2 separate regions of the Homo sapiens genome follow, and region 1 is linked to region 2. The links are contacts of gene promoters, found by promoter capture Hi-C in blood cells and fetal thymus (Javierre and others, 2016). All regions are on one chromosome and are shown on one strand. The core of a region is centred on a gene start or on the middle of the fragment in contact, and the rest is flanking DNA. Distances in the headings are between cores, read along the strand shown. Region 1 has its middle 15 kb from the start of RPL22L1. Region 2 holds the start of SLC7A14 (solute carrier family 7 member 14).

Region 1 (4,834 bases), core at 2,038-4,537, 270 kb before region 2:
GTGGTGTTTGTTTCTAGGCCTTTTGAGTGGACAGAGTGAAGGAATACATTTTTGTTCTTAAGAGGAAATGATATGTTTATTCTGATGCTTCCAATTCAAAATCAGGATAAAAGAGTTTTTATTTCATCAATTGTATGACCATATCTCTTTTTTCCCATGCTGAAAGTTCCAGTTCTCAATGACACCAACACAAATGCTCATTTGCTTTATCTCACAATATACACATAATAGTTTCAATAAAATAATACCAACAAAACTACCTATAATATAATGACTTTACAGCTTAAGATTGTTTTGCAGTTCTTTTTGTCCTTATGGTATATCCCACTAGAAATGAACAAAGTTTCGTGTTTTAAAGTCACTAGAAATGATTCATCTCTGTGTGGGCGTAGAACAAGCTTGATACACAGAGTCATTTGTTTCATTTTGCTTTTGATTAAAAAGTTTGCTTAAGCCCACTTTGTTTTTTATAATTCTGTAAAATATTTACAGGATTCTAAAGTCCAATCTACAAAACAAAGTATATTTAGAAAAGTCTAGTTTCTCTGTCTTTTTTTTTTTTTTGAGACAGAGTCTCGCTCTGTTACCCAGGCTGGAGTGCAGTGGTACAATCTCAGTTCACTGCAACCTCTGCCTCCTGGGTTCAAGCAATTCTCCTGCCTCAGCCTCCTGGGTAGCTGGGACTACCAGCTCCTGCCACCACACCCGGCTAATTTTTGTATTTTTAGTAGAGAAGGGGTTTCACTATATTGGCCAGGCTGGCCTCGAACTCCTGAACCTGTGATCCACCCGCCTTGGCCTCCCAAAGTGCTGGGATTACAGGTATGAGCCACCGTGCCCAGCCCCTAGAGAGGAGTTGTAAACCTGAGACTTACAGGTCAAAAGATAAATGAATGTGTAATTTCTAGATATTGCTGAATTTCCCTTTACAGGGGTTGTAGCATTTTGCTCTCCCACTAGCCTTCCCACCAGCAATCTGTGAAATCTGTTTTCCTGTAGACACACCAAGAGATAACCTTGTCCAATTTGAGGCTTAACTGACAGGTGAGACCTGGTTTTCAGGGTAATTTTCCTTTGCATTGTATTTGTGAGTGAGGTTGAATGTCAATAAGGGTCATTTGCATATCTTTCTCTGTGAGCTGCCTGTTTATATCTCTAATATATATCTGTGGAATTCTTGTTTTTATTTTTAATTTTTTACTTTTAGAAGCTCCCTCTATGTTAAGGCTATTAACTCCTTGTGTGTGATGTAAATTACAATTTCTTTTTTCAGCTTCTCATTTGTCTTTTTCCCCTACTTATGGTATTTTTGTTTTTTAACTTTTTTTTGAGACAAGCCCTTGCTCTGTTGCCTAGGCTGGATCATGGCTCACTGCGTCCTTGACTTCGTAGATTCAAGCCATCCTCCCACCTCAGTCTCCTGAGTAGCTGAGACTACAGGCACACACCACTACCTGGCTCATTTTTTAAAAAATTTGGGTAGAGATGGGGTCTTGCTATATTGCTCAGGCTGGTCTTGAATTCCTGAGTTCAAACAATCCTCCTGCCTGAGCCTCCCAAAGTGCTATTATTGCAGGTGTGAGCCACCATACCCAGCTGCTATTTTTCTTTTGTTTTATTACTAGTTTTCATTTTGTTTTGTTGTAGTTGTTGCTATAGAAGCATTATTTTTATTTTTATGTAATTAAATCAATTAACTTTTTTCTTATTGCCATGGTTAGAAAAGCTTTCCCCGTTATCAAGAATTCATTTATGTTTTCTGCTAGTACTTACATATTTTCATCTTAAAAAAATGTAGGTCTCTATTCTATTTGGAATTTATCCTGGTTTACAATTTGAGAAGTGGATCCAATTATACCTTTTTCCCATGTGACTACCCACCTATACCATTACCCCTGATGAAAAAGTTCCCAGGAAGTTTTGCTTAGCATAGGTTTTCCTACTTACTGTCTGGAAACCCTTGTATGTGGTCATGCTGAAGGGACTGGAGTCTAGATATATAGCTTCAGTGTGTGCTCTTTTACAAGCTGGATGATTAAAATGCCAGGAAGGCCAGTTTTAAACAATGTGTTGCATTTACAAATGGCTTTCTCTTTTCTTTTGATCCCTTAACAGCCCTCTGTGGCACAATATTATCTTCCCATTTTTCAGATGAAAAAACCAGGTCTCAGGTTTACTGGCTTGCCCATGGTCACACCATGGCACCCACCTCTCACTCCTCACCCAGTGCTCCTCCCACACACGGGGCCATGTCACACATCCTGCCTCTCTGTTGCCTACTAGCTTTGTGACCTTGGACACATCTCTTCACCCTCTGGGCCTCAGTTTCCCCTTCTGTATATAAAGAAGTGGTTAAAAATAGGTCAGCATTTCTCGGGCTTTAGTAACACCTGCTTCCTTTTGATAAACACAGATATTTCTCATGTTCCTTGTTCCCAGTTCCAATTGCCACCCTGTGATATAACTGATGCATAAATATCCCCACCAACCAAGGTATTTTGGGGCTTTCTATTCTGAAACAAAACAAAGTAAGATTTTTGGGATAATTTTCCCACTATAAACTCATAATATTGGATATACCTTTTTTTTTTTTTTTTTTTTTTTTTTTTTGAGACGGAGTCTTGCTGTGTCGCCAGGCTGGGGTGCAGTGGCGCAATCTCGGCTCACTGCAACTTCCGCCTCCCAGGTTCAAGCGATTCTCCTGCCTCAGCCTCCTGAGTAGCTGGGATTACAGGCCCACACCACCACACCTGGCTAATTTTTTGTATTTTAGTAGAGATAGGGTTTCACCAGGTTGGCCAGGATGGTCTCGGTCTCCTGACCTCATGATACACACAAGCTTCTTGAGAGTAACATACTTCCCCCATGATAAGGCTTTTTTTTTCTGTCCTAAAATCCTATGAGTTAATGAGCCAAACTGGGAATCATGATCTGCTATCTCAATTATGATGGAATAGATATGTTTTCTCCCAAGGGAGGGAACACTGCAACTCCTCTCTCCCTCTTTCTCTGAGATGGGGAGGTGTGAATTACAGATTCCATACATGTCACAAATATATGGTCAATGATTTCTGCCTTGGCAGTCGCAGTCATGGGAGATGATGGGTGAGTTATATATACTCTCTGCACTCAAGGAAATCCCAGTTCTAACGAGGGGAGCAAATGTGGGTACAAATGACTTTAGGTAAGTGTGGTTCATGCAGTAATAGAGATATTACAAAATGCTTTAGAAGCACCAATACCATAATGAGTGGGAAAAGGAATCCAAGAAGGCCTTCTGCAGGAGGTGGCTTACCCTGACTTCTCTTTAAGGAAGAATGGGAATTGATGGGGCAGAGAAGAAGAGGGAGAGAATTCCAGGCTGAGGAGGAATGGTGATAGTGGCTACTACTCATCGAAGGCATCTGTTTTGGAATCTTTACATACTACATCTCATTTAATTTCCACAGCTACCCTTCAAGCTAGTTATTAGTCCCCTTTTACAAATCAGAAAACCAAGGGCTTAGAGTGCTAAACAGTCGGTCTACGGCCACACAGCTAATAAGTTCCAAATTGGAATTTAAATTCAGATCTCTCTGGCTTCAATGCTCATGCTCTGTAAATGCTTTAGTGTAAAAAAATGTTTCTAAATTTCTCCCTGCCAGGCAATCTTTTCTCACAGTGATGCACATTCAGCTGGCTCCTTAGGAGAACCAAGCCTAAGAATAATCTAGCTTTTGAAGAGAACCAAGCTTCTTTTTTCCTCTTCTGGAGAACCACAAACTGGCTTAACAGAGGGCTCTCTGACGCACAGTTTTATTGTAAGAAGGCCAGTCACAGGAGACGGCCTACTGCCTTCAAGAAACAGCATGGAAGATTCCTTATTTCATCACCCCTGTACTTTTCATTGAGGTATGAAACAGACTTTTCCAATGAGACTTTTTCTCTCCTATTTCAGCTGAGACTCCAAGAACTGAGAACAAAATTAAGGTGCCAAATATTCCCACATTCCAAATCTATGCAGAGCTTACAAAGGAGGTGCTCCAGCTCCAGTTTTCTAAGACTTAGTTCATTTCCTACTTCCAGGACACATGAGAAATTGAAGACTTTTAGGCATTTGACTCATCCTTGAGAAAAACTAAGGCAAAGGCAGTGGCTGGAGCAGTTTGCCTACGGGAGAGCAATGAGGGGTACATTTCCATAGCTACAAGGAGGCACAGGTGCTTCCCCTGGACCAGATGTAGTCCACAGATGTAGTGCACGGGGAAGGACCAGGCTTGGGTTGAGTTCTTGTTCACCTAAGAGGACTGCTTGGGAGAGAAGTGGGACCCCAAACAGAAAGAGTCTGTGTATAAGGGACAACCACATGCTCAGGAGCTACAGGTAGTGAGTGAAGATCCTGAGAAATGGCATTGCTTATGTCACGAATGTTGCAGCAAAAGATTCTCTGTGATAAATCTTTGAGAAATCCAGAAATGTATACTTCAAGAGAAAGAAGAAGCCTTGAACTTTCTTCAAGCCCAGAAAGCCACATCACCAAACTGTAGTGGTGGAGACAGACCTTTTCTGTCCCTTCCTTTTGCCTCCCAGACCCTGCTCATTTCAAGGCCAACCCCAGAGAAGCCAGAGGCAGCCTATTGAAGTTGGAGGAGGTACACACCTTGGAATTCCCTGGTACACAAACTAATACCACTGCCTTTTTGTTTAAGCTATATCATAAACATTCTGACACTTTGACAGAATTTTTGGTTTATTTGTTTTCCTCCCTCACTAGACTGTAAATACTTCGAGGCTAAAAACCAGGTCAAATTTATCTCTGTGTGCCTTTCTGGGTAAGCAAATCCATATAACTACA
Region 2 (4,392 bases), core at 255-2,754:
GATAAGTAGCTGGCAGAACCTGCACTGAGATTCCAAATTTCTGATTTTTTAACTTTGCACTTTTCCTACAATGTCTCACAGCTTCTTGGTGATCCCAGGAGGTCTAACATATCCTGCAGAACTACTCAAAGCTTAAAATATGGGGATATTGTCAGGCTTAGATGCTCATCGAAGGCAGTAACAAGCTTGAGGTAGGTGGACTAACCAAGACTGTCCTGGCAATGATCAAGCAACTTTCTGGGAAGAGCCCAGGGCAGACCCACAAAGTAGAGCTAGATTTGAACTGCTCCACCCTAGAGGAGTATCAGTCAGCCAGTATTCTCCCCAAACACAAGCCCAGTGAATTCATTTCCAAGGATAGGAGAGTTACATTTTGTTGCCTCCCATGTGTTTTGAGGGCTTGGGCCAAAGTGCAAGAATTTATGTAGATAACTTTCATCCAAATCAGTCTACTCAATGCTTGTTAAATAATTCATTCGGTGATGTGGCCAAGCATGCCTGGGTTGGTCCCATCTAGTCCCAATCCTTTTGGGACATAACCTGGCTCTAGGACACTCATCTTAAAGGAGCTAATACAAAACAGAAACCTTATCTCACTCTTGTCTCCGTTTAGACTGGTACTTGTCTAGCCTGACCTCACAGATGCCTCCTTCCATGTTTAAAAGATGCTTTCACTGTATTAGCACACATCACATCCTTCTTGCCTTGTGAAATTTATTTTAACAAAGGTGGGGGAAAAAGAACTCTCCTTTATTGAGCTCCAAATACCTGTCCAACTCTAGGCTAGGCAATTCTAAGAACATGATGATTTCTCAATCTCATGACAATACTGCAAGGTGGTTATTTCACAGACGAGAGAAGAAAAGCTAGAAAGTTAAATGCTCCAAGGTCATACAGATTGGAATCCTAATGGCTCTTCAAATCTCAAGTCCATGATCTTTGCACCCATAAGATGTTGTGAACCCAACGATAAACTTAAGCTTTGAAGACAGAGGTGGGTCTTGTCTTCTTTAGGAGGAGAGGAGAAATCAACCTCTCTCATTTTTTCTTTCCTGTAGGGCTCAGGGATGTGGAAGTTTAAGAGCAACGAAGGCTCCGCAGAGGATGAGGGAAGCTTCCAGAGGGCAGGAAGGAGGTCTGGACAGCCCAGTCTAGCAGGGGCAGAGCTGCGGCAGATGCCTTCCCAACGCACAGACATTGCAGAGTCCTGCTGGTCCCTGCTTTCCCAGGGCAAAGAACTGCCCCCATCCACGGCCCCCTCAACCTCCCTGCAGCCTGACATAAGACACTGGAGGTCACAACTGGAGGCTCAGAAGGCCAGCGAGGAGTTGTGAGCGGCAGACAGAGGGGAAGGCAGGGGGGCCAGGTGGGAGGTGGTCTGGTGCCAGGCTTGGGCCCAGTATGTAAGGGGTTGGGCAGGCCATGTGACTCCAAGGAGGCGGAGACAGGCGAGCTGGAGGGAGGACGAGCAGGCACGGGGAGGGGTTCGGGGGGTGGGGGCCCAATCTGAATAATTGAGGAGCTGTTCAGCAGCAGCGGCTGCCTCCTGCCTTCCTTTGCCGCCACCACCACTTCCCATCCCAGCTAGAGAGACAGCTCCGCGCAGTAAGTGCGGACTGCCAGCCACCAGCCTTGGCAGCCAGCTCGTCGCCTCCAGCCCCGACCCCGGTAAGTGAACGGCCCCCTTCGCTGCCGTTTGTCCCCCTCCGCGCCCCCCGCGCCCCAGCGGGACCCCTGCAACTGGGATGGCCGCCTCTCCCGGAATGACCCAGGGAGCCGGAGTCACCGGGAGCGGGGGACCAGGAATATGGCGCGGAGGCCCAGGGCGCCCTCCGAGAAGGGGTTCCCTGGAAGAACCGAGGAGGTGGGTCGGGCTCTTTCCTGCTCTGGCCCGGAATGAGGCCCCGACTGCCCGCGGTCTGGGGGCACCGGGCTCTGACTCGCGGGAGCTGCCGGGCGGGGCGGGGGCCAGCGCGGCTCCGGCGCCGCTAGAGCGGGAGGCAGAAGGGGAGCCGCGAGCGGAATGCGGGCAGCCTAGGTCTCGGCAGACGCCGGGCCCGTCCTGTCCCCCGCCTTGGCGCGCACCCCGCACGGGCAGCTCCGTTCTCCGCCTCGGACCGAGACCATGAAACGGAGACGCTTTTCCGGCCGCAGACTCCGGGGAGGTCGGGAGCAACGTCTGCCCTTTTACCTGGGAGCAAACTCCTCAAAGGGACTCCCGCCGAGCCCAGCACCCCGACCAGGATGGTGGCGCCCCGAGGGGCGTCTGTCCCCGGAGAGTGGTGACTCTCCCGGGAGCGGCGAAGAGGACGTGACGGGAGCGGTGTCCAGGGAAGCTCCCTGCCCAGAGCCGGCAGCCCCAGCAAGGGGAGCTCTCCTGCACTGCTTCAACCCTCAGTCTCCTCTCTTCTCCCATTCCAAAGCACATCAGCTCCCCTCTAATCCAAGAGGGCCAGGTTAGGGCTGCGTGGCCACGCGGGATGCAGCCCCCACCCTCCTTCTCTCTCCTGTGTCACCCTGCCCCCTCCCCAAATGAGTATTTTATATTGCGATTGAAGAGTGAGCAAAGCAAAGGCGAGAAGAGATGCAGGAAGGCTAGAGCAGCGGGGCTCGCTCCTGTTCTGGCACTCCTCATCCCCCCACCTGTGTGAAGCTCGTTTCCTTGAGATTTTGAGCGGAGACACTCAAAGGAACTGGCTCTGGCGAAGGGATCCCCGCCTGAGTGTCGGTGAACGTCACTGGCCCGAATTGCCCAAGGGCCGCAGGATGTCACCCTGCCTCCCCCTAGGTATAGGGTCTAGGAGAGCGCTGGGGGCAAGGTAGCTCTCCTCCTCCGACTGAGTGCAGGGAATGGCGCTGTCCGCGGTGCTGAAAGTTCTCAGAGGCTGGGTGCTAATACCGCCAGGGCCCACATTCCCTGCGAGCAGAAACTGCGTTAGAACCCTAAAGGGTTCTAAGCAAGCGACCTAGAGAAACAGGAGAAGAAGGGGCTTTGCCTTTCCCGGTTTTCTGCTTCCCCAGGACTCCGCTTGGGAAAAGGTTCCCGGCTTTCCTGAGTGGAAGAGCAGGAAGCGGGTGTCACTTCAGGATCCAGTTTTGCTAACTTCGGGAGCTTCCTCGTTCTACTTCCTATACCTGAGCAGTGAGACTTCCTGTCGGTAAAGTGTTGAAAGGCAGTTAGGGATGCTGTTTTGATAATAAACATTTCTGTGGCTTTCAGGAATCAGAGAATTGTTAGGCTACACAAAGGAGGGGCTTCATGGTTGTAGCTTTTTCCTCTTCTTAGAACCCTTCTTTCCCCACTGCATGTTATTTACATGCTCTAGATAAAGATCGCTAAGCAGCCCTGTATGTTTGTTTCTTTAGCTAGTCTTTTATATTATGGGCAAGATGGGGAAAGGATTGAGCCAATTTGGGGAGGCCTATTTGTACTGAACACCTCTATCTGCTGGGTAATAATATTTCATTTAAACTTCACAATAGCTGCCAACCAAAAGTATCACACAGAGAAGGAAACAGAAACTTGATTCCAGAGATTGGATTCAAAATCAGATCTATTTAACTCAAAGTCCAAGCCATTTTCATGCCTTCATTTTGGTATTTGGCTCTGAATAGCTGTTATTGGAGATTATAGCAGGAGAATGACAAAGGAGGGAGGCCTGCTCTTCTCTTTCACACACTCTCCTCTCTTCCAACCCTTTTCTCTTTAATCCGTTCACCCACTCACTGTCATGCACTCCCACCCTCCCAACTGCTTTTGCATGCTGCTTGAGATACCACTGTTCACACAACTTCAGCTCCAATATTATGGAAACAAGTTAGAGAACTAAACCAGCAGCCTTTTCTAAAAGAGTAGCAGGGCTTCAGGAAGTCTGGAGAACTAGAGTCCACATGTACTTTCATATTTAGAATTATACTGTTGAATTTTAGAACTAGAATAGCTTTGAATATCATTTAGCACCATCGTTTTACAAGAAAGAAAACTTGGAAACCAAAAGATGGTCATTAGTCTAAGTCACATGATTGAAAAATTAGAACCCAGTTAACTTGATTCCAGGCCCAGGGCCTTTCCCACTATTTCATGGTGTCTGAAATACTCTTCCATACTGCTTTCTTTGATTATCTTTGACTAAACGTCAGCATCAGTGAACTAAATTAAACAACATGCCAAAAATACAAACACTTAACATACAAGCATTCCTCTTACCTTTCTTCCAACTCCTTTGTCTTCCAGCTCTTTCCCCTCTGGTCCTACTATTCCAGTGTTGTCTAACCCAACATACCTGGGAGATATGACCCACCTTCCTCAGTAACAGTTTTCTCTGAAGCAGCAATTCACAAATGGGAATGGTAGTGTGTCATTTCTTTACTTGCCCTATCTTGTCTATATCT

What was found. Contacts are between HindIII fragments. The CHiCAGO score rates a contact against its expected background, and 5 or more counts as called.
Region 1: a fragment that was not itself captured here is called in contact with the fragment with the promoter of SLC7A14 in region 2 in 1 of 17 cell types (endothelial precursors); the score reaches 5.6 in endothelial precursors.

Annotation. Positions count from the first base shown.
Region 1 is chr3:170,853,277-170,858,110 of GRCh38, reverse strand. No RefSeq gene overlaps it. Among named protein-coding and RNA genes, the nearest start is that of RPL22L1, 15 kb to the left of the region's middle. The HindIII fragment of the contact is 892 bases long and covers 2,842-3,733 here.
Region 2 is chr3:170,583,187-170,587,578 of GRCh38, reverse strand. SLC7A14 (solute carrier family 7 member 14) reads left to right here and starts at 1,504. Exons shown (of 8, transcript NM_020949.3): 1 at 1,504-1,668. The region is part of intron 2 of SLC7A14-AS1 (SLC7A14 antisense RNA 1); the gene reads right to left. RefSeq lists a silencer at 2,725-3,019. The HindIII fragment of the contact is 6,611 bases long and covers 1,117-4,392 here.